Regions from separate parts of the Homo sapiens genome. Here all the other regions are linked to region 2. Evidence: promoter capture Hi-C in 16 types of primary human blood cells and fetal thymus (Javierre and others, 2016). All regions are on one chromosome and are shown on one strand. Each heading gives the region's core, a stretch centred on a gene start or on the middle of the fragment in contact. The rest is flanking DNA. Distances are from core to core; before and after follow the strand shown. Region 1 holds the start of ALDH1A1 (aldehyde dehydrogenase 1 family member A1). Region 2 holds the start of ABHD17B (abhydrolase domain containing 17B, depalmitoylase). Region 3 overlaps ANXA1 (annexin A1). Region 4 overlaps KLF9-DT (KLF9 divergent transcript).

Evidence for each region. Contacts are between HindIII fragments. The CHiCAGO score rates a contact against its expected background, and 5 or more counts as called.
Region 1: a contact is called between a fragment that was not itself captured here and the fragment with the promoter of ABHD17B in region 2, in 1 of 17 cell types (M2 macrophages). The highest score is 5.3, in M2 macrophages.
Region 3: a fragment that was not itself captured here is called in contact with the fragment with the promoter of ABHD17B in region 2 in 1 of 17 cell types (activated CD4 T cells); the score reaches 5.9 in activated CD4 T cells.
Region 4: a contact is called between a fragment that was not itself captured here and the fragment with the promoter of ABHD17B in region 2, in 1 of 17 cell types (total B cells). The highest score is 5.3, in total B cells.

The regions. Positions count from the first base shown.
Region 1 is chr9:72,952,828-72,955,659 of GRCh38, forward strand. It overlaps ALDH1A1 (aldehyde dehydrogenase 1 family member A1), which reads right to left and starts at 226. Exons shown (of 13, transcript NM_000689.5): 1 at 108-226. The coding sequence starts at 173. The HindIII fragment of the contact is 2,986 bases long and covers 1-2,744 here.
Region 2 is chr9:71,909,669-71,912,513 of GRCh38, forward strand. It overlaps ABHD17B (abhydrolase domain containing 17B, depalmitoylase), which reads right to left and starts at 1,525. Exons shown (of 4, transcript NM_001025780.3): 1 at 966-1,525. It overlaps C9orf85 (chromosome 9 open reading frame 85), which reads left to right and starts at 1,971. Exons shown (of 4, transcript NM_182505.5): 1 at 1,971-2,168. The coding sequence starts at 2,067. RefSeq lists a silencer at 1,049-1,288 and enhancers at 1,739-2,048, 2,119-2,168, 2,179-2,238. The HindIII fragment of the contact is 4,051 bases long and covers 519-2,845 here.
Region 3 is chr9:73,160,440-73,163,358 of GRCh38, forward strand. It overlaps ANXA1 (annexin A1), which reads left to right. Exons shown (of 13, transcript NM_000700.3): 6 at 364-454; 7 at 2,343-2,422. Among named protein-coding and RNA genes, the nearest start is that of ANXA1, 10 kb to the left of the region's middle. The HindIII fragment of the contact is 828 bases long and covers 1,256-2,083 here.
Region 4 is chr9:70,420,311-70,423,396 of GRCh38, forward strand. The region is part of intron 1 of KLF9-DT (KLF9 divergent transcript); the gene reads left to right. Among named protein-coding and RNA genes, the nearest start is that of KLF9, 7.2 kb to the left of the region's middle. RefSeq lists a silencer at 44-133. The HindIII fragment of the contact is 387 bases long and covers 1,184-1,570 here.

The DNA.
Region 1 (2,832 bases), core at 2-2,501, 1.0 Mb after region 2:
TTGCAAAGGGCTCTTTACACAAGTTTACTTAAATTGACCTTTAATGCTTTACATAAATGCAGTTTTTGCAAACCCGAGTCAAAGCAGAAAATAGAAGTTTTACTCACCTTAGTATATTGAATCTTCAAATCGGTGAGTAGGACAGGTAAGTCTGGCGTGCCTGAGGATGACATTTCTGATTCGGCTCCTGGAACACAGGTGACTGGCTCAGCAATTTGGTTCTGATAGAGCACTTGGCTTTATTTGTTCCTTTTTTATCTGCACGGGCTAAAGTTTATTTGCATACTCGGATACGATTGGATGAACAAACTCAGAGCAAAAAAAGAAAACGACACTACTTATTTGTAACACCTAGGGCAGGAAGCCTTTGACTTTAAACTTAAATCCTTAAGAAACCAGTGCTCCAGCATCGAATTTGTACCTGGAGACAGTGCACTATTTGCAGATGAATTAATTTACAAAGCCGAAACCTGTGATAAGTGTATGCAGCAGCTGCTCTGGCCACTAAGGCCAGTTATTATTTTTTTGACTTCTCATGCTTTTTAATGCTACTATGTAACTTTCTGTTCTCTGACAGACTTGGAATCAGAGAATTTGAGGATTGAAAAGAGTCTAAAAGGGCACTTGTTCTCAGTAGAAGCTGGCCAGGTGTCTTCAGGACAAGGCTTTCAGGAAATCAGTCCATCTCCCAGAAAATCAAGGTGCTGTTTGGGGAAGAAAGGCCCTTTATCTACACCCTACCCTAAGTTAGTTTTAAAATATCGTATCAGTCTTGTGTATTTTCAGTGCTGGGTAAGTAGACCTACTGTGATCTCAGAAGCCCTAAATTATCTTTATTTTCTATATGTGAACAGAAAAGCCAGCAGGACTTTTAGGGAATTCGGAACACACTGTCACACACAATCACCACAATTAGAAATATGGCAATATCATCTATTAATACTCATTTAAAATGAAAGTAATCCTGGTTTTGGAAGTTGTCTGTATTTATCAACATAGGCAGTGTACAAAGACTAAATTTAAGCAGGGCTTCCAAACAATTCAAGTTCTTAAATTAATATTTAGCTGAAGGACAATTTTTTAAACAGTGTTACTCCCATTTTAAGTACAATACTTTATTGTATTGTAGCTCTAGCAAACGTTACAATAGGAACAAGATAAAATACTCTGGATGCTCTGATTGTGGAGAATCAACCAATTTTTTTTTTTCTAGTGAAACTTGCCAATTCCCCTGAATATGGGACTTACATAGGGAAACTAAAAATTTCTGAATTGTTTGCCCAAATCAGGTGCAGCACTTGTTTCCCTTTCTACCCTCATTTCATATCCCCATTTTAGAGACATACAGAGGGTGAGTAGCTTACTTATGGTCACAGATCTATTAGTGCAGGACCAGAATTTCATTTCAGGCCAGTCTGACTCCCAAACCTGGACTCTTATTTCTGTTTACTATTTCTACCCTATTCTCCACAAGAGAACTCCTACATGGGTTCAAGCATCAACTGCTTTGGTTTTCTCAGTGAATAGTCACCCTTACAGGCATTTAAACATAACTTTTTATTCATCTAAGACAAGAATTTGCAAAACTTTTTCTGTAAATATTTTCAGCCTCTGGGCTGGATGGTTTCTGATATAATTTACTTGACTCTATTTAAAAGAAACTGTAGATGATAGGTAAATTAATGGGTGTAGTTGTTTTCCTATAGAACTTTATTTAAAAAGACAGAAGGCAGGCCAGATTTGGTGCACGGGCCAACTCCCTAGATTCTAAGGCAATATCATTCCCAATGCCTTTGACTCCCCCGTGTCTTATGTTTGATGACCAGATAGAAACTTCTGTGTTCTTTCAACATTTCTCTGTTTCTTTCTTTTTGGAAAGTCTAATTGTTTTCTCTCTCAAAAATGTGTTTTGAGTTAAATGCACAATTACACAACAGCTGTTACATAACTTGAGAGTGGCGCTCTGGCCATGCCCAAACAGCTGTGTTTTGCTGCTTTCTTCTCCCAGAGTCACAGTTGTTTGTGGATTCAAATACTGGTTTATTTGATGTCCAGGCGATGAAAGCTCAAGGCTTCATAACATACTTGGCTTGTCATCTCACTTCTTATATGATCATTCTCAATTGTATTTTATTGGATAATTATGTAAGAACAGTCCCTTTATACCAGGCATTCCTGAATGTAGGCAAAAGGAGTTGCTTTGGAGACAGGTTACCACACCTGCCCATTTAATTTCAGCAAATATTTACTAAGTATCATTTATGCATCCATAATTCTTTAGCCCTAACCTCACTTAAGCAGATCTTTTCTGCCTAGAAACCACAGGGCCTGAGACCTATATTTTTGAGGTAAACATCATCCTGCCCTGAGAGCTTATTTTGTAGAATAGCATATTTCTGGGAATTGCTGCATATGAGGAAAAGATTTCATCAGACTACTTCTATTCCTTACAGAGGAAATAATGGCTTTTGTGAGAACCTAGGGACCAAGGTTGCACATTTTAGAACTGGACCCAGGATTGTACGTTTTTATGGTATGCCAGGACTATGCAGCAGAGGAGGAGCTGTCCCTTTAACTTGAGAGTAATCGACAAATGATGTTTCATCTTCTTTTTCCTCCTTATGAACAAACTAAATCACACACACACACACACACAGGCACACACACATATGGAGAGAGAAGCAAGAAACATAAGAGGATAGTTTATTCATCTCTTGAATTTGACTTCTCCAGCCATTTGTGAAAGCTTTCATTATACCAAGAAACATATAGATTATGACTTCAACCATTCTTGAAACTACTCTTTCATTTTACAACAAACATCTCCAGAAC
Region 2 (2,845 bases), core at 275-2,774:
ATCTATAGATCAAGCATCATATATCACAAAAAGTATTAAACAGGAACACATTTCATAAACAGCGAAATTTAAAGGTCACCCTCTGTATTCCGTTATTCATCCTTTTGCTTACCAAATCTACTTCACACTGACTTAAAGCATCATTTACAAAAAATTCTCTTCTGGCATTGGCAGAGATCTCACCAAAGATCAAAGATCTGAACTTTTTTTTTTTTTAAACAAAAACCCCAGGTTAAATACACTCTTTCCTTCACGAGAGCCCCCACACAGTACAATCTAATTTGACATAACTTTGTTTCGGGGTTAAAAAAAATCCCAAACAAAACCTTTAAATTTTCCAATTCAAAAACGATTCCTGATAAGCCTACCTTAGAGTTCGAAAACAAATAAGATTAAAGCCCAACCATCTAAAGAAAAAGAACCCTACGACAGCCCCACCGGAATACACAAATCGCCAAGCCCCGTGCAGATTCAATCTAAAATCGCGCCCGACAGAGATATAAGGACATTCAGGAGAAAGCTTTTAGGCACCCGCGAATCTCTCAGTGCGCCAGTGAGGGGAATGGGAACCTGACCCCATCTTTTCATCCACTGAGAGAAAAGCAAAGGAAATGAAATGGAACCCTTCTCTTCACCGAGGAGGACCAAAGACCTTCTTAGAGTGTCGGTCGGTCCTCCCTCCCCCACCCCCTGACTCCGGCCGCTCCACGGACCGCAGGGACTGTCCTACCGCTCCCCTTCACGCAACCATCAGAGAATCCTCTCAAAAACACAGACCCGATGAGGAGTGGCTTCCCCGCCTTTCCCCTGTGCCGAGAAGGGATCCCGGTCGCCAACAACAAAGACGCTTCCCGCTCCCCTCCCCCCGCCGGCCCGGGCTCGTCCCTCCCGCGCTGCGGCTCCCGGCCTAGCGCCCCCTCCCCGAGCCGGGCTGCGGCGTCCCCAAACCCCGAGGCCGCACGCACCTGCACCTGAGCGGCCCGGGCCGAAGCGCCGGGCAGAAGGGGTCGAGAGAGAACCGCAGCCGACGCGCTGTCCTCCACAAGGCGAGATCCGCGCTCCGGGCGCCGTCCGACTCTCTCCGCCTGCAGACTGGCCCGACAGAGGAGCGGGGACCAGGGCTACAGCCCCCGGCGCCGGGGCGAAGAAGGACGGCGGCGCCCCAGGGGCCCCGCTCACGCTCCCGAGTCTCGCCTCGCGCCGGCCCTGCTCCTCCACAAGAGCTCGCGTTCTGCTGACTAACGGCCCCGGTGCGGGGCGCTGGAGCGGCCGCCGCTGCCCGTCGGTTGCTCTCGGGCCTCACGTCCCGCGCGGCCGTGGTCGCAGCCGCCGCCGCCACCGCCTCCCTTTCTGGCACTGCAGACGCCACCCAGACCTAGCCAGGTCTTCCTTCTCTTTAATCCTGCTTTCTTTGCTCCTCCTCAGCCTGCCAAGCGCGAGGCTCGTTCCGGTAGCGGGAGGAAGACTGGAGGGGAACGGAGGGGACGAGCACAATCCCCACTGAGCCAGGAGTTGGCCACTGACTGGAGGAAGGTGCCAAAGCTGACCCCGGCTCCAGCCTACTAGCGGGCGGGGGGAGAGACGGAGCCCAGCCTTGCCTCACTTCCACCAATCAGAGGCCGCCCGGCAGGGTGGGAGGCGCTCTGAGCTCAAGGAGAGGCTGAGCTCGCTCAGCAGGAGGCGGGGATTGCGGAAAAGAAGAACCAATAGGAACAAAGGTTCCCCGCCCCTTTGATTTGATGGACTACACATTCGGGCCAATGGGGGAATTCTCATTTCGAAGAAAGTGGGACTTGTTCTCCGGGTTTGAGAAAGAGGCTGCGCGGAGCCGGAGGGGTCGAGGCTGCGCCGCGTGGAGTGGCTTGGCTTAACAGCAGGGAGGGCAGAGCGATGCTCTTTGACCTCCCAGAAGAGTCACGTGGGCTGACCCAGAGCCGGGGCGGAAAGGCTGCGTTTGTTTCTTCCGGGTCATTGACAGAAGCGTCAATTCCTGGGAGTAGTTCGTTGGTTTTCTTTCCCCTCATCCTTTTGCCTGCTCCCGGCGAGGGGTGGCTTTGATTTCGGCGATGAGCTCCCAGAAAGGCAACGTGGCTCGTTCCAGACCTCAGAAGCACCAGAATACGTTTAGCTTCAAAAATGACAAGTTCGATAAAAGTGTGCAGACCAAGGTAGGAACCTGCCTGTTGCACCGTCTTTGACTCCAGGAAGGAATGGCTCACTGGAGAGGGGAGAGAGGAAATGAGAGGAGTCGGCTGGGGCGAGTGTGGACCGCAGCCCAGAGTTAGTCTTGGCTGCAGTGCAACTCTTTCTAAAATGTTATTCTCACGCCCTTTCTTTGACCTGGACATGTTGTCTCCTGGTAAATATTTGATGGTCAGCACACTTAACTAATTGCACAGAGTGAACAGGACCCTAATGAAATCTAAGGTGCAGATGGGGCAGTTACGTCGTTCAGCGTTCCCATCTGGATCACATTAGCAGAGGGAAACGAGGATTGTGGCATGAGTGGCTTTTTCAAATTTTACACCAAGTTTATGCAGCTACGATTTTTTTTTCCAAAAACCCCAAGCCCATAGAGGAAATGTGAATGATTAAGCTGTCTTAGGCTGTCCTCACTAGTATTGTGTGAAATTTCTGTTTTGTAACAATTGTTTTGAAGATAAAAATATTTGGTTAATGTAAAAATACTTGTTTTGCTGTTTATCTTTAGCAGGACTTCTGTAAAGTCCTGCTAAAAAATTCAGACTGTCTAGATAGCCAGAGGACTTGGGTTGTATATAAGTACTAATTTGCAGGCCGGGCGCCGTGGCTCAAAGTGCTGTAATCCCAGCACTTTGGGAGGCCG
Region 3 (2,919 bases), core at 420-2,919, 1.3 Mb after region 2:
CTTATGTTATTTTCAAAATCTAGTATAGTACCTGTCAATCAGTGGGAGTTTGAAGAATAAATAAATTAATACCTCAATGAAGGAATTAATATATAAATGAAAACAGAAATGTTGGCACTAACACCTTCCATGTCATGTCACTATATGAGTCATATATTTGCATTTTTATTTTTACCCAAAATATTGATGATAAACTTGTTTTGTTTTAGGGCAATGTAATAGAGCTTATTGTAATTATTAAATGTTGTGGGTGAAATTTACTAAATGACAGAGTCAAACAAATTTTGGAACACCAAAAACTCATTGATCCTCTTGCATGAAGATTTTTTTCTACATTTATCCTTTTCTTCTCTTCAAATTTAGGGCCTTGGAACTGATGAAGATACTCTAATTGAGATTTTGGCATCAAGAACTAACAAAGAAATCAGAGACATTAACAGGGTCTACAGAGAGGGTAAGTTGTAATGTCCAACAGTCCAAACGCCTTATTTGAAAAGGAAATCTAATATACTTTCTTAAAATTGACTGTCTATGGTAATTATGGCAGCTTTGGAATCTCCACATATCAAAATGTTTCTTTATTGTTTGGCACATGTCTATTAAATGCTGTTACCAGGCAACGCTTGAGTTGCTAGGTTGCTGACAAGGGAGATGGTGTCCCAATCCGCATCAAGCTTGCGTTTTAATAGAAAATGTTCCTCTAGGATAAATGGCCACATACGATTATAATGGAAACCTCAATTCAGAGCATTGAATTTTTAAAAATTTCTGAAAAACACTTTTCTATTATTCTGGAATGTATTTTATAAAAATGTCCCAAGGTCATTTTTTTTGAAAAGAATATATAATAACAAAAAAATCTCCTAACAAAATGTTTTTCATTTGTCCTTGAAAAAGTAAAGAATTAGGTGCTTATAATTCTCTGTTGGAAACCTTAACTTTATCGTTATGAACATAAGAGACTCACTTTATCTCTAGTTAAATTCACAGAATAAAAGACTAGTCTTAGCTTATTTTATCTCTCCAGTGAAGCATCTCATTTAAATGATGTGCTCAACACTGAAAAGAGGGTAATTGCAAGTCTCTTACCATTTTCCTACTCTCATTTCCCTGAGCTGCTGGCTTTTTGGCTTTCCCAATGCAATATATGGCATATAGAAGATCTTTCTGCTTGATTCTCATACCAAGCATGGAGAATACAATAGCTTTTGCATATCATTTTCAGAGGAATTTAATAAAAGAATAAAAATAAGGAAGCTTTTAAACCTCATTTTCTGCAATTCTTATTTAATTACCAATGTTTATGTTAGATCCATGTGTCAGTGGTAATAATGATGATTATTTTTGTTTGATAAAACATAGTTTATAAAAATAAGTGTTTATATATTTTTCATATGGCCAAGATATAGGCCAGTGATAGTTTATTACATTGCCCAGTTTCAAGTTGTTTTAGTCCGTTTGTGTTGCTATAAAGAAATATCTGAGACCAAGTAATGTAAAAAGAAAGGAAATACTGTACAAGTAGTATGGGACCAGCGTCTGCTTTTGATGAGGGCCTCATACTACTTCTACTCATGGCAGAAAGCAGACAGAAGCAGATGTGTGCAGAGAGGGAGAGAGAGAAAAGGAGGTGCCAGGCTCTTTTCAACAGCCAGTTCTTAAAGAAACTATGAATGAGAACTCACTCCGAGCCATTCATGAGGGATCTGCCCCCATCATCCAAACATCTCCCAACAGGCCCCACCTTCAACAGTGGAGAATAAATTGCAACATGAGACTTGGCAGGGCCAAACAAACAATATGAAAACCATAGCACTAGTCAATTATAAATTCAATTATTTTTTCCTATTACAGTATTATTTTATGTAGTTAAGCAGAAGTGTTTACACACACATAAATCATCAAACTGCATTACTTATAAGACATTTATAGTTTTTAAACTAAATAAATAATTTGCATTCAAGCAAGTACCTCATTTTGTTCTTTTAAACAATTATTTTATTCATTCTATTGCTTAAATTCTGCCATGTTGTATTTCAGAATTAATTACTAATGTATACCTATACAATTTATTCTTAACGAAAGCTTTATGACTGTGAGTTTTCAATCACAGTATTATCTAAATTGCTCCCATTGCTTCATATGAAATAAATTCAATGATCCAAAAATTTACCTGCTTTAATTTTTCTCTTCTTATTTAAAAATGATAATATTTTGCAACATGTTCCATAAGTCATTGAACACTGTGGCACTGTGAATTTTCAACCAACTTAGAGATGTCAGATATTCTTATTATTATTCATCACTGGTTTACTATAAAATCTATTTTTCTTTTTTCTCAGAACTGAAGAGAGATCTGGCCAAAGACATAACCTCAGACACATCTGGAGATTTTCGGAACGCTTTGCTTTCTCTTGCTAAGGTACAACTCAGATACTTTAGGAAATGCCTCTTGTTTTATAAAGACTAATTTCTTAGTCCATTTTGTGTTGCTATAAGGGAATATCTGAGGCTAGGTAATTTTTAAAGATAAAAAGGTTTATTTGGCTCAGGATTCTGATGGCTAACAAATTCAAGTTTGGGTATCTATGTCTGGTGAGAGCCTCAGGCTGCTTCCACTCCTGACAGAAGAGGAAAGGGAGCTGGTGTGTGCAGAGACCACATGGCAAGAAAGGAAGCAAGAGAGAGAATGGGGAGGTGCCAGCCTCGTTAACAACCAGCTCTCGTGGTTCTCATGAGCAAGAACTCATTCCCAGTGACGGCATTAATCTCTTCATGAGAGATCAGCCCCAGGACCCAAATACCTCCCTCTAGGCCCCACCTTTAACACTGGGGATCAAATTTCAACATGAGGTTTGGAGGGGAAGAACATCTAAAACCATCGCAAGTAAAATCTTGTATCTGAGCTCCTTCTAGAAA
Region 4 (3,086 bases), core at 127-2,626, 1.5 Mb before region 2:
GCAGCAGCTCTCCCCGCGGCCGCGCCCGCCCGGCACCCAGCGCTTCCCGCCGCAGCACACCCCCAACCCATTCTCCCCTCCCCTTCTTCCAGTTCCCCCTTCTGTACGGCCCCCATGCTCTTGTCCCACCCCCTCTACTCGGCGTCCGGGTACTGGGTCGAGACGTGTGTAGGTGTAGGGAGGTGGATAGCCCTTTTCCGAGCCGTAGGCGTCACCCCTACGCCCAGGCCCAGGCCCAGTGCTGGATCCTGCACTTTCCCAACCTCCCCCTCCCAAGTTCCAAGGTTGCCCTCTGTTCCCCTCCCAAGCGCAGGTGACAAGCTGCTGAGACAGTGTCTGATTCACCGACAGCTGAACCAGCTACTGGTACTTGGAGGTGGGCGTTTGCTGAACTGTTTTCCTCCCACCTCCCCCAACCCCCTACCCCGGTGGGGAGCGGGCTGGAGGGTCGGAAGAGGCAAGGTGGATGACAGCCGAGAAGTGCGTGCCCGCTCTTCCCTCTCTCCCTCCTCCTCCCAGTTTCATTTCCACACATACAGCCACCCACCGGGGACCGGAGGCGGCTAGTGTTCTCTGAACGCCGGGAACTGGCTCTCTCTGTGGTCTCCTGTTTACTTCCCTCCTCCTCTTTTCCCCTCCCTTCTCCCCGCCCCCATCTCCCGGCGCCGCTTCCCGCCCAGAGCAGCTGGGAAACCTGCAGCTGAACACTGCAGTCATGGGACTTCCCTGGCCCCGAGCTGTGCCCCAGGTTTGCCCTGTCCTGTCCTGCCTTGCCCTGTGTCCGCTTTTTGGGGGGCACTTATTTGTCCTGAAAAGGGTCTTAAGGCTCCCTATCCAGGAACGTGGAAGAGGTGACTGCTTCCCTCCCCCTTCCTCTCCTCCTGACTCCCCTGCCAGCTACCTTCCTGTGGGGGCCCTGCCTGGCTGTCTTTTTTGGCCAGGATTCTGGGCCACCCCCACGAGTGGCCACCTGTCCAGGGAGAAGTGGTGAGACAGCTAACGGTGTGTAAGAACTCTGCATCCAGGATGCTGCAGAGCTGGCTTCTTTGCCATCACAGACTGTCCTGTTCGTAACAGGGTGCCCAAAATTCTCTGCCGACCAAGGTTTTCAGGCAGAACCCCAAAACCTGCTCCTAGGGACACACCCTCTCCTTATGGAGTCTGGCAAAACCTTTCCTTTCAAAGCTTGCTTCACAGCGGGGAAGAATGCAGGCTCTCTCCCTAAGTAAGCTGAATGAACAAAGGACTCCAAGGAGGCCGTGGGGGTTCCAGCTCTGGGTGCCGCCTGCCTGAAGTTCACCCCATTTAAAAACCACCTCTTCACCACCACCCTCTGCTCCACTGCCATGGTTACCAGCTCCCTGTCCTTCCCAGCACAATGTTGCACAGAGGCAGAAACAAACAAGGACATTTAAAATGTTCTTTTAAATACCCAAAACACTGCCTTGGTATTTTGGTAGCAGAGAAGAGGGAATAAAAGTCCTGACTGTTTGCTGGTTTCCTTCTGACCCCACGACCCTGAAAAAATCCTTACCCTGGATGGCCTCTCAGCTGCCAAAAGAGGGAAGGAAGCTTGGTGAGATACTAGAGAGTGGAATTCAGAACAAACCCTTGGCAGGAGAATTATTCACCAAGATAGACTCTTCTTTCTTCCCCCTCCACCCCAGCTGCTTTGAAGTACCTGCCATCAGACTATACCACCTCCGCTTTGTGGCTGTCATCTGCAGGCTCTCCTGCACTCCCCCTCATTCCCCGAAGATTCTAGCACCTGACTCACAGTCCCCCACCTCCACCCAACTCCTATTAACATTTTTGGTGAATTTAGCATCCCAATAGATTAATGACCTATCTGAAACCCTGGTACCTGAACAGCAATCATTTTTTTCCTCCACCCCACTGTCACATGGGTATCTTCAATCTTTTCATCACCAAATAACAGCACCACCTCCGACCATCATCCTCCTTCCTGACCAACACTTCTTTCTCTCCCAGCTTATTTGCTCAAATAACCACATTTGAACAATTCTTTGACCCTATTTTGACTTCCAGTCTACTTTTTCACTGTCTGTCATTGACCTTTCATTCTTACATCTCTCCTACCCACCTTAAGATTTCATGGTCTTCCACTATATCATTCTTTCGCATGCACCTCCCCCTACTCTCTCATTCCTGGGACCATCTGGCCAAACTCTTGATTCTGTCCAGCTTAACACACTGGACAAAAATGACAGGGCTAACTGTTGTCACTCTAAATTTATGATCATACATCTCAAGTGGGCTCTCAACACTGTCCGTGTGCATTTCCCTCGTCAGTTTACTTTCCCACACGCTGAAATGACTATATTGCACCTTCTCTCTTCAAACTTCCAACACCCCTCCCTTCCTCACTCTGAGCTGAGAAACTTGCTGCTTATTTTACTGAGAAAATAAAAGCAATTTGACAAGAACTACCTCCTCTTCCCACCATCATATCTTCCATCCTGCCTACCTTTCCACCCAGACGCTGCCTTCTCTCTTGTCACCTGATATACTGTTCCTGCTCCTGTCTAAGGCAAATCCTTCCATGTGGCACCAGGTTCCCTTCCCCTCTAGGCTATTTAATGACTGTTTCTAAAATTACCCCATCTCCTGCTTATCAAGTTGTTGCTCTGTTCTAAATCATTCACTTCAGCACAAAAAAGTGTCCTCCCTCCTGTCTTTATATGTATACTTCTGCGTCTGTGCCCCCTTGACCCCATATCCTCCTGCACTGTTACTCCATTTGCCATCTTCCTTGTATGCAGACATCTCAGAGTTACCTCTATGTACTGTCTATATGTGCACACCCCCTGTTCTCTTTTTATATTTATTTATTTATTTTTGAGGCGGAGTCTCACTCTGTCGCTCGGGCTGGAGTACAATGGCGTGATCTCGACTCACTGCAACCTCTGCCTTCGGGGTTCAAGCGATTCTTCTGCCTCAGCCTCCTGAGTAGCTGGGACTACAGGTGTGCACAACCATGCCTGGCTAATTTTTGTATTTTTATTAGAGACGGGGTTTCGCCATATTGGCCAGGCTGGTCTCGAACCCCTGACTTCAGGTGATCC